4 separate regions of the Homo sapiens genome follow, and regions 1, 2 and 3 are each linked to region 4. Evidence: promoter capture Hi-C in 16 types of primary human blood cells and fetal thymus (Javierre and others, 2016). All regions are on one chromosome and are shown on one strand. Each heading gives the region's core, a stretch centred on a gene start or on the middle of the fragment in contact. The rest is flanking DNA. Distances are from core to core; before and after follow the strand shown. Region 1 holds the start of MAP3K2 (mitogen-activated protein kinase kinase kinase 2). Region 2 has its middle 48 kb from the start of IWS1. Region 3 holds the start of IWS1 (interacts with SUPT6H, CTD assembly factor 1). Region 4 holds the start of BIN1 (bridging integrator 1).

Region 1 (2,700 bases), core at 201-2,700, 280 kb before region 4:
ATTTATCTCTAGATTACTTAGTAAACAAACACGTTTTTATTGAATGCCTGCTATGTGGTGACCCAGTAACTGTGGAGAACAATATAGATATTTAAGATTTAAATACTATCCTCCGGCGTTCTGAGACCCTCCTTTCTGTGGCATACAGGTCTTAGAATGTTAGATTCAAGAAGGTCTTAGATTTATGCATAAGTCCCCCATTTTTTAAACAAATAGAAGCAAACTGATTTTCCACTGACCTCTGTGTTTCTGAGGTGCACATCCTTGTTCCTGTGACTTTGACACCTCTGTTAATGGGTCTGTAATAAAAATTCCTGGAAGAAACCCAGAGATATTTTGACATTACACAACAGTTTCTCCCTCAGTCTCTGCCCCACAAGTGCCAGCTCCCTTGACCCTCAGAGCCCAAGTTGGGTAGCTCCTTACCTCTGGTTCGGGTGAGTCCCATTCCCATCTCTCTCATTTCAACTGCTCCAGTGGAAATGTGGTCTGGAATATGCATGAAAGGGGTGGATCCAGAATGTACGAAGAAACCAAGAAGAAGCTGAACAGGGAAGAATGGTACAGGAAGTTGTAAGGGGTATTTAAGGAAAGGAGAAGAGATGGGGCGGAAAGGTGCTTTCTGGATCAAAGTAGGGTGAAAACGTCGGGATGCAGGTTAGTCACACCACGGAGGGCCTCACCACTAGTCTGATTAATTTGCATTTTATCCTGTGGGAGATGAGGAGCGAAAGAAAGGGTTTTAGACTCTAGCTTTGGGGGTGGGGTGTCAACTCATGTCTCTGGGCTTAAGTTTCCACATCTGTTAAGCTGGAGAAGTAATACTTGCTGGGCTAACCAATGTACACAACCAGTCATAACCAAGTATCGATGGTGATAAGAACTAAACAGAAAACACAAATAACACTTAGCCAGTCTCCAAGGGGGTGGTTTAAGGTTAGGTGGCAAGCCTGAAGTAATTTCTAAAGTCCCTCAGGAAAAAAATTCTGAAACTTGAGCCACAAATTAAGAGGCAGACGGCTTTTCTCCTTGCAAATGACCTGCCACACAGTCCGTCACTGCCTCTGCTAGCTCTGCTACCCTTGGGCCCTGTCCACAGCCCACGTGGGAGACCTTTTCACGGGATCTACTCGGATGTCTGGGATCTGGCCACTACCGCAGGCTCGAGACAACCCAGGTGCGTATGCGCCGCGCACACGGAACAGCACAGGCTGCCCCGGGGCAGGGGCGGGGGCGGGGCCGAGGCCGGGGCGGAGCCAGGACTGGGAATCCCCGCGCCGTCCGGCCGGTGGGGGCGGTGGCCTGTGTGTGGGCGTGGCGGGCCTCTGCGCAGGCGCCGACCCACTCCCCTGGGCCGGGCGCGCGCCCGCGGCGGGTTCCGCTACCGCCGGGCGGAGGGGTGCGCGCGCACGAGCGAGCGGCCGTGACGTGCGCCGCGCTACGCCCGACGTCACGGGTCCGTGTGTAGTGGCTGCCGGGCTGCCTGCCCTCAGCGGCGGCGCCTGACGAGGGTGCCGCGGCCGCTGGGCGCAGCGTTCGGGGGTTGCACGGCCCGCGGCGGCGACGAAAACAACGACCAGGACGCTCGGCGCCCCTGTCCGCAGAGTCGCCACTCCCGCCTCTTCTCCGGTCTCTAGCGACGCGGGCCCGCGGCTTCCTCCTTTCCTGCCCAGTTCCCGCGGGCCTCGGGGTTGCAGCGGCTAGAAGTGCCGAGGAGCGCCAGGAGGACCCGGCCGGCTGCGAGGATTCACGCGCCCGCCACCCCGCCCGGCCCGGGCTTCATGTGAAAGAGGGACGGGCCTGGCCCCAAGGCCCGCGCCCGACTCCTCGCGCGCCCCTCCGGTCCCCGGGGGCCCTGCGGCAGCCCCCGACCTGGGGCCGCGGTGACAGGCCGCGCTGGGGCGGAGGGGCGGGCTCGGCGGGGGCGGCCCCTCCTTGGGCCTGCGGCTCTCTACGTCCCTGCGGAGCAGCCGGTACGTGCGTGTGTGCGTGCGCGCGCGCTTGTGTGTGTGTGTGTGTGTGTGTGCGCGCGTGTGTGTCGGGGGCCGCGGGCTGGGCGCCGGGAGGGGGGCTGGCGGCGGCCTAAGCGCCGCTCCAGGGGCGGAGATTTCGCTGGGTGATTGCCTAGCTGCGGGAGGGCGGACCTTGGGCCCCCTGCATCCAGTCCTAAAGCCCAGGTCAGCGCGAAGTAGGCTGCTGGGCTGTGTTAGCTGTCAGACACGTACCCTGCAGAGATTTTAGAAGAAAGGTTGCATCTGGTCTTGGGATGAAGCAGAAATGGTACATGCAGTAAGCGAAAAAGTGCTTGTCTTTGCACTGTCACAGTGTGGTAATCTTTTGATGTAAGGTTGTTTCCCCCTTTTCTCTTTACGGAATATTTAGGTAGCACTTAGGGTGCTCTTAGTCTGCGCCCGGCAGTTGTCATGCATTATCTCTCTTCATCTTCCCAGCTCAATGAGGTGGGTAAATTGCCCCATTTTGCAGGTGAAAACTTGAGGCTCAGAGAGATTAAGGCATTTGTCCAAGGTCATGAAGGTAGTAATCCAGGAAGGCTTGGTTCGAATATGCAGATGTCTTTTTGTAAGACTGTATTTCTCGTCTTGCAAAAAATAAATACGTTTAGAAAATGAGACTAACTGGGCAGTTTCTTTAATGGGATAAATTCTAAACACATAGACAGATACAGTTTAGTTTTCCCTA
Region 2 (2,700 bases), core at 164-2,663, 370 kb before region 4:
ATATAACTGAAAATCACTATGCCGAAAGCTTAGAGCAGTTGAGCAGTTAGAGGAGAGAGAAAAATTATAGCTTGTAGCTATGTTTCTTGTTGCTCTATTTTTGTGATAATAGTCTCTATAGACTTAATTATGAGAGGTCTCTTAAGGTCAAGATGACGAGGCCCAAGAACGTTTTATCAACTAGATTATTTTAATTTCAGAAATCCTATTCTGATACGGATTGGCACCTTGATCTTCAGAAACACATAAAACTACTTTTGGCCAAAAAAGCCTTTGAACAGCTAAAATAATGAAGTTTAGATACTAAAACACTGCTCACAAGAAACTCTCAAACTATTTACTTCCAGCAAACGCAGAAGCACAGTGGGATATAGTGCTTTGTAAAAAGCAGGTGCATAAAGGCATTAGAAGGTAATAGCTAGCCACTAGATGGAGACAAAAACCTAAGCTTTTCTGCAATGTTTCATACAAATACCCTCAAAAACACTTGAGAAGGAAAAAGCAGAGGCATCTAGTGAAGCCTTACACTGATCATTAAAAAATAAATTTGAAACAAAGACAACAAAGGTTGTATTTAAGAAAGATTTTTAAGTTACACAATTTTGTCATTTAATGGGGTAAGCTCCAATTACCTGAAAATTTCACTATTACAGGGTAAAACTTTAACGATGTTGGCAAGTAAAAAGTTTTAAACCATACCCGGGGAATTCAAAATGGTAAGAGATTCTCCTGTACTGTGTTTGAAGGAAAAAATTAGTTTCTATATAAATGATCCTTGGTGTTGGTTTTATGGCAGCTCAAACCTAGCTGGCCAGAAAAACCTTTAATTTTGAAGATATTTCCAATTTATAGTAGTTGCAAAAATAGTAAATAAACTCCGGTATACTCACTGATATTTACCAAGTGTTAACGTTTTGCCACGTCATTGACTCTGTCATCTTGTATATGCATAGAGCTATTTTTGCAGACTCAGAGTAACTTGCCGACAACTTGCCCCTTGAGCCCCAAATACTTCAGCATATTTCTTCCAAGAACATAGACTTTAGTTTTGTCCCAGAATTGATGATACTAACTTTGACAACTTGGCTATGATGATACAGAGTTGTGGGGGATTTTGTTTGTTTTTTAAGAGATGGGTTCTTACTGTGTCGCCCAGGCTGAAGTGCAGTGGTGTGATCCTAGCTCCCTGCAGCCTTGAACTCCCAGGCTCAAGCAATCTTCCTGCCTCAGTCTCCTCCCAAGTGGCTGGGACTATAGGCATGCACTCTCATGCTTGGCTTTTTTTCTTCCCCTTCCGGTTTTAAGATTTACTATCTTAAACAGTTTTACCGCTCAGTGGCATTGAGTATGTTCACAATGTATCGCCATCACCACCATTCATCTTCAGAAATCTTCTCATCTTGCAAAATTTTAACTCTACCTATCAAAGAACTCTCCTTCCTCCCCCAAGCTCTTGGCAACCACCATTCTACTTTCTGTCTCTTACGAGTTGTCTGTTCTAGGTACCTCATATAAGTGGAATCATACATTTGTCTTTTTGCGACTGTCTTATTTCACTTGGTATAATGTCCTCAAGGTTTGTCCATGTGTCCAAATTTCCTTGCATTTTAAGGTTGCATAATATTCCAGTGTGTGTATATACCACATTTTGTTTGTCCATTCATCTGTCAATGGACACTTGGGTTGCCTCCACCTTTGGCTATTGTGAATAACGCTGCTGTGATCATGGGTGTACAAGTATTTGTTCAAGACCTTTTTTTCTTCACTTTTAGAGATATTAAAAAACAACCATTTTTTTTTCCAATTCTTTTGGTTATATACCTAGAAGTAGAATTGCTAGATCATATGGTAATTCCATTTTAAATTTGTTTAGAAAGTGCCATACATACACTTTCCATAAGGGGCTACACAATTTTATATTCCCACCAATAGTACACAAGAGTTCCAATTTCTCCATATGCTTGCTAACACTTGTTATTTTTATTTTTTGATGGTAGCCATCCTAAGTGATGTGAGGTGGTATCTTGTGATTTTAGTTTGCATTTCCCTAATGATAGTGATGTAGAGCATCTTTTAATGTACTTTTTGACCATTTATATATCTTCCTTGGAGAAATGTCTATTCAAGTCATTTGCCCAGTTTTATATTGGGTTGTTTGGTGTGAGTTGTAGGAGTGCTTTGTGTACTCATGTTAATGCTTTATCAGCTATATGATTTGCAAATACTCTCTTTCATTCTTTAGATTGCCTTTTCACTCTTGATTGTGTTCTTCGTTGCACACATTTAAATTTTGCTGTATCTCACTTTTTTCTTTTATTGCCTGTGCTTTTGGTGTCATATCAAAAAAATTATTGCCAAATTCAATATTATGAAGCTTTTACCCTATAATTTTGTAAGTTTAGTTCTTATGTTTAGGTCTTTGATCCATTTCTAGTTGATTTTTTGTATGTTGTGTAAAATAAGGTTCCAACTTTATCCATTTGCATATGGATATCAAGTTTCCCCAGCAACATTTACTGAAAAAAACTTATTTTCCCCATGGAATGGTCTTGCAAGTCTTTTCAAAAATCATTTGACCATATGTGTAAGAGTTGATTTCTGGACTTTCTTCTTTTCCATTGGTCTGCATGTTGCAATATAGAACTGTCTGTGTGTCTGTCCCCACTGAAGTCAGGACGTGTGAGTCTTCCAACTTTGTTG
Region 3 (2,847 bases), core at 315-2,814, 420 kb before region 4:
TCTCTTCCACTGAACCTCCGCCTGGAATTTTGATCTATTAATCCTGCTCCATTTACACAGGTGTACTCTCACCTTCTCTTTAGAAGAGGGCTTAGAGCCTTGATATCTTCTATCAAGTGATTCGGTTTCGGGCATTGCTAATTCTTTGTTCTTTTGATTCTCAAGACTGCCTGAGAAGATGTCATTCCCACAGCTGAAAAGAAGGAATTTGGATTCAATGCTGTTTCCACCACTTCGGAAAGGAATATCCATGAACTCTCTTGCAGGAAAATGGGAATTTCCAGAGAGAAACCACTTCTCCCCTTTCTTCTCTTCCCACGTCCTCTTCAGGAGCCTATAATTGGGCTCTGCCAGCATACTCTGACTGGCTAACGAAGGGTCAGATATCTGCAGTAGTAACAAAAGGCTCTTTTTCTACATGTCTACACCTCCTGGGGAGTCTTTGCTTAAACCTCTACTGGCCCTCCTCCGATCCAAAGGCAAGAATGTTCCCCTCTCTGTCCAAGACTAAAATGAACAAGTAAGGAAATGGATTTTACTCAGCCTATTGCAATAGGGAGAGCACTCCAGATATGATCAGTGTCTTGGCAGCGTAGTTTTGACTTTTATAGGGAGGAAGGTGGGATGATTGACAGTTGGGATTGTTTTGCAATCAGGAGAAGTTTCAGTCAGGTGAACAGGAAATGTTCTCTGTGTCTAACAAGTTGGGGGGAGGAGAGTTCTAATCTCAACTAATCACTCGATATCATCAGCGGGAATTTGGAAGGTCTGTTTGGCTTTATTAACAGGCTCAGAATAAAGGGGAAAGGTCTCTGGCCTTGTCACAGGCAAACAAGGGGGTCATCTGCACGCGTTTTATCTGAGTCACATGGAGACGGGTGGTTCTTTACAGTGTGCCGTTCCAGAAACACAAATAGATGAGGGGGTTTCTTAATCACCGCTGTTTTCCAGGAACACAGGGCTCAGGTAAAGTTCAACTTCACCTTCCTCCGGTGTTTCATCAGGGGAACCCTTCTGGAAGCAAAGACGTGTACTTCTTACTGTTGGCTAAATGGCTTCTTAACAAGGAAATTAAATCGTTGTTTAGAATGAAAGAGAGGAAGACGCCGGGAGAGGAGGCGCTGTGGATCGCGCCAGTTAGTAACGCATCACAGCTCGCGGGCGTCATACTACAAGTCCCAGTGAGCAACGCCCGCTTTCTTGCCTACTGCGGGCGGGAACCAGGCGCCTCTGGGCCTGACGGGAAAGACAGTGGTTTGGCTGAATGACGGAAAAGTCATTTGAGCAGGTCTTCATTTTTCGGAAGAGTATCTCAAAAGCTCTTCAAACAAGGCACGGACACAGAATCTAGGAAATGATAAAGAATCAATGATAACGTTATTACCACGGGGGTCAGACCAGGATCCACCCGAGGAAGGTATTTAACTAAAGCCCGAGTTCCAGCTCAATTTTCCCAGGAGTCTCCTTTCCGGCCGTGCCTGGCGTCATTGCTGTTGCGTCTTCTCATTGGCCGGTTGACGGGTTGCGGCGCCTGCGCGCTGCATTCCTTTGAGGGTCGTGGGCAGACGCCATTTTGGCCCCAGCGGTGCTTCTAGGAAGTAGAACGCCGGCTCGCATGCCTGCCCGCCCGCCAGCCTGCCGGGTACGGCCTTTTCCGCCGGGGCTTCCAGGTCAAAGAATTCGCCTTTGCCGCTACCGCTTTCTTACCCTCCGCACCCGTTAAGTTCTCCGGTCGGGCGGCAGTCTCTGAACACTTAGCCGCGCCATCCGGGGTCACACCGCCTGGAAGGAGGTGACGGGGGCGGCGCGGGGCGCGGACACTCCCCGCTGAGAGTCCGCCTGCCATGGACTCGGAATATTACAGCGGCGACCAGTCAGGTGGGGCAGGGACCTGGGGGACCGGGCTGGGAGGCGGAGCAGTTACTCGGCGGGGCTTGGCCTGGCACCCCGCGGGTGGGGGCAAGGAGGCCCCCCGAAACCTTCCCTCCCGCGACCCGGCCCGAGGAGGGCAAGAGCCCTCTGACCAGCTGCAAGCGTCGAAGCTAGAACGTTGGAGAGGGGATTCTGGTGGGAAAGCTTTCTTCTGAATCGGCGAAGGTTTTTGCTGAAATTGGGAAGTCACTTTCATATGTTAAGCTCCTATTGTGTGCAGGGAAGGAGAGGTGTCTTCTGTTAAGAGAGTTTTCAGTAGTTGAGTAGTTGGAGAATCCAAGGGGCGTTGGGGCGGGGGATCCTTCCTAGACTTTTCACTGCTAGTTAGGAGTGGTTTAATCTTGCTTGCAACACCGGACGTAAGTGCAGGACCCATGTTTCAGTTGCATGCATAGAGTAAGGAATGCGCTTCTGGCACTTACTGGTGGTTTTTGTGCCTTTCCTCCACCTTGAGATCGTTCCTCTTCCTCCTCACCGAAGTTTGGTCTCCTTTCTTTACTGTTTGTTTATTCTGTAAGCTGTTACTGGGGCCCACTCTGCTGGCACGGTGCTTGGCACCTGAGATTAAGGATAAGTGAGGCAGAACCTGGTGTGGGAAACACGTCGCATTTGCTTTCCCTTTGTGTGCTAGTCCTGTTGGGGCGTTCTGTTACAAAAGTTCTTAAATACACCATAAATAAATACACCCTCTATGTACCCACAAAAATTGAAAATTAAAAAGAAAACTTGAGTGCTTAAATAATTGTTTAAGCGTTAAGCCCTTTACTGTTTTGAGTTCATTGCTTTTCCTTACGTAGGACAGTGAATTCTAATGACTGCAAAGCGTTTTCCAGGCATGCACTGCTTAAAAACACTTTCCTAAGCCAGGTGCGGTGGATTATGCCTGTAATCCCAGCACTTTGGGAGGCGTAGGCG
Region 4 (2,928 bases), core at 428-2,927:
GGCTGAGGCAGGAGAATCACTTGAACCCGGGAGGCAGAGGTTGCAGTGAGCCCAGATTGCGCCACTGCACCCCAGACTGGCGACAGAGTGAGACTCTGTCTAAAAATAAATAAATAAATAAATAAAAAATACAGCGTTAACAACTATTTACATAGTATTTAAATTGTATTAGCTATTACAAGAATCTAGAGATAATTTAAAGTATTTTGGAGGATTTGTGTACGCTATATGCAGATACTGTGTCAATTCATATGAGGGACTTGAGCATCCCTGGATTTTGGTATCCACGGATGTGCTGGAACCAGTCCCCTGGGGGATACCGAGGGACATCATGATAATAGGCCCGGAAGAGGACAGACGAACACACTGGGCCATGGGGCAGCACTGAGCGGTGGTGGAAGAACCCCGAGTAGCCGGAGAAAGAGCAGGAGGGCCTTCCAGGGAAGAGGGAATGGCCTGTGTGAACCCAGGCTGAACCTCTCATTCCTGGGACTCGATTTCTCCATTTGTACAAACTGCTTGGTTTGTGGTCTGCAAGAGCCCTTCCTGTTCCTCCAGGAAGCCTCTCAGGGACCTCTGTCCCTGGCCAGCTCTGCTCCTCTGACCGCTGCGGGTCCTGCAGGCCATAGCCCTGGCTCCTGTGTGTGCACCAGACACGTCTAGGCCTCTTCAGCGGGACCTATCTCTCTGCTCAACTCAATCAACAGTTCTTTAGAAATTTCCAGGGGCAGCAAAGTGCTGTAGCCCCTGACATGTTTTAGGGCTGAATGGGGGTGGGTATCAGCAGACTCAATACGTATTTATTAACTTAAAAGAAGTGTCATTGGTCTATTGGCAAAGCTGGTTAGCAATAACCTTATCTTCTCCAGGAATAATGATCACTAATCATTCCTTCCTGCTGGGGGTAGGAGACAACCCGGCGTATGGTGGTGGAGCACCTGGGAGACAGAGGCAGAGATCTCGTTCCTCGATCCCGGCGCGTTGGTTGTAAAGTAGGAACAGTAATAGCACCTACCTCTAGGGCCACGGAGACCGAATGAAATAATGCCTGTCAAGTCACTTAGTACACAGTAAGCACTCAGTAATGCTAGGTTGTTGTTATTATAATAAATTTTTAGCGAACGGGAAGACCAAGCACCGGTTGGTACTGGGCTAGGCGCCGTAGGCAAAGATGTGGAGATGTCCCGGAGGCGCCTAGGGTATCCGGGCGAAAACCCGAGGGCCGAAGGCTGGGAGGAGGCGGAGCGTCGGGCACCGGGCACCGGGCACCGGGCGGGAGGTGAGCCCCTGGAAAAGGAGGGGGCTCCGGGCGCGTTCTCCCAGCAGCCGCGGCTCCTCTGTTCAGGGCCGCGCCCCCTTCGCCGCACTTTCTCTTTGATTTCGAAAGCACTCCTCTCCTCCACCTAGTCTCCTTTCCTGGGTTGCAGGAGATTACTGCTTGCGGGGAAGACCAAGACGCCAGGCCGGCGGATTAGTCCCCGCCCCGGGGCGGTGCAGCTGGAGCGTCAGGGGAGTCCCGCTCGCCGCAGCCCCAGCGCCGCGCGCGCCCCTCCCTCCTCGCGGACCTGGCGGTGCCGGCGCCCGGAGTGGCCCTTTAAAAGGCAGCTTATTGTCCGGAGGGGGCGGGCGGGGGGCGCCGACCGCGGCCTGAGGCCCGGCCCCTCCCCTCTCCCTCCCTCTGTCCCCGCGTCGCTCGCTGGCTAGCTCGCTGGCTCGCTCGCCCGTCCGGCGCACGCTCCGCCTCCGTCAGTTGGCTCCGCTGTCGGGTGCGCGGCGTGGAGCGGCAGCCGGTCTGGACGCGCGGCCGGGGCTGGGGGCTGGGAGCGCGGCGCGCAAGATCTCCCCGCGCGAGAGCGGCCCCTGCCACCGGGCGAGGCCTGCGCCGCGATGGCAGAGATGGGCAGTAAAGGGGTGACGGCGGGAAAGATCGCCAGCAACGTGCAGAAGAAGCTCACCCGCGCGCAGGAGAAGGTGAGCGAGCCGGAGCCCCAGCAGCCGCGGAGTCCCAGCCGCCGCGGAGCCCCGGCCACCTGTCCCCCTATCCTCCGACCCCGGGGCCTGGTCCTTCGCCAGGATCTGGTGCTGTCACCTCTAGAGGAGCGCTTTCGAGGGGCTTCGAGGTCCCCAGGCTGCGTTCCCCGGCGCTCTGGGTGCCCTCTTAGGTTTGCGTCCTCTGTCTCCCCACACCCGGCCGGGGCAGGACAGGGCCCCGCTTTGCACCTTCGTGGCTCGGCTGCACAGCAGTGGCCGGCCCTGCTCCAGGCTCTTCTCAGGCGCGCGCTCCAGGCTACCCCGCTTTGGAGGCCAAGGGCCGGGAGGCTGGGAGGCCAGGTGGTGACCCTCAGCTCTCCAGGCCCATGCAGGCAACCTAGGCTGGGCCGGCGCTCGGGGCGAGAGGGAGTATGTCCCTCTGCCCCTGGGGACACTATTCCCCCGGACTCCCAAGGCTGCTTCTCGAACCGGCACCCACAGTTCCTTCCTTCCCACTGCTTCTCCACTTTCGTTCTCCGTGGGCCGAAGGAGGGATTGGGTTTCCTTTCCCGAGAGGTGCCTGCGGCCTGGAAGCTCCCGCCCAGCCCGGCCCCACCGGGAGCCCAGGGCTACGCACCCCGCAAGGAGGTGCCCTCGCCCCAGCAGGGGCTTAGCGTTTCCGGCGGCCGGGGAGCGGGTGGCGGCACTGGCTTTGGGAGCCCACGGCCGGGTGGGGAGCTGGCCTGGAGGAGGCGCGTGGAAGGCGCCACAGGAAACCCGACCCCTCCTCGCGGAGAGCTGGAATGGGGGATGGAGCCGGGGCCTCCCAGGGTGCCCAGAGCGTGCAGGAAATGCAGAGATTGAGGGGCGGGGGTCTGCACCCGGTCAGTTGTCTATCCCAAGCCACCTCTGGTTTATTGAATTGGATCACGCCAGCTGCTGACGCCACTTCCCCTG

The links. The method cuts DNA at HindIII sites, captures the fragments that hold promoters and counts their contacts. A CHiCAGO score of 5 or more calls a contact.
Region 1: a contact is called between the fragment with the promoter of MAP3K2 here and the fragment with the promoter of BIN1 in region 4, in 2 of 17 cell types (total CD8 T cells and naive CD4 T cells). The highest score is 5.3, in total CD8 T cells.
Region 2: a contact is called between a fragment that was not itself captured here and the fragment with the promoter of BIN1 in region 4, in 3 of 17 cell types (fetal thymus, total B cells and naive B cells). The highest score is 7.5, in fetal thymus.
Region 3: the fragment with the promoter of IWS1 here is called in contact with the fragment with the promoter of BIN1 in region 4 in 4 of 17 cell types (total B cells, monocytes, M0 macrophages and 1 more); the score reaches 6.2 in total B cells.

What each region holds. Positions count from the first base shown.
Region 1 is chr2:127,386,725-127,389,424 of GRCh38, reverse strand. MAP3K2 (mitogen-activated protein kinase kinase kinase 2) reads left to right here and starts at 1,450. Exons shown (of 17, transcript NM_001371910.2): 1 at 1,450-1,973. It overlaps MAP3K2-DT (MAP3K2 divergent transcript), which reads right to left and starts at 1,987. Exons shown (of 4, transcript NR_187129.1): 1 at 1,873-1,987; 2 at 427-544; 3 at 240-314. RefSeq lists a silencer at 1,161-2,030. The HindIII fragment of the contact is 12,520 bases long and covers 1-2,700 here.
Region 2 is chr2:127,477,144-127,479,843 of GRCh38, reverse strand. No RefSeq gene overlaps it. Among named protein-coding and RNA genes, the nearest start is that of IWS1, 48 kb to the left of the region's middle. RefSeq lists an enhancer at 1-37. The HindIII fragment of the contact is 1,926 bases long and covers 451-2,376 here.
Region 3 is chr2:127,525,206-127,528,052 of GRCh38, reverse strand. It overlaps IWS1 (interacts with SUPT6H, CTD assembly factor 1), which reads left to right and starts at 1,564. Exons shown (of 14, transcript NM_017969.3): 1 at 1,564-1,878. The coding sequence starts at 1,845. RefSeq lists enhancers at 965-1,034, 1,275-1,324, 1,585-1,644, 2,175-2,234, 2,245-2,324 and 1 more and silencers at 1,070-1,243, 1,885-1,994. The HindIII fragment of the contact is 4,097 bases long and covers 1-2,078 here.
Region 4 is chr2:127,105,903-127,108,830 of GRCh38, reverse strand. It overlaps BIN1 (bridging integrator 1), which reads left to right and starts at 1,677. Exons shown (of 19, transcript NM_139343.3): 1 at 1,677-1,971. The coding sequence starts at 1,888. LOC105373605 (a long non-coding RNA gene) reads right to left here and starts at 1,686. Exons shown (of 4, transcript XR_923311.4): 1 at 1,016-1,686. RefSeq lists silencers at 1,550-1,609, 1,444-1,738, 1,620-1,829. The HindIII fragment of the contact is 12,156 bases long and covers 1-2,928 here.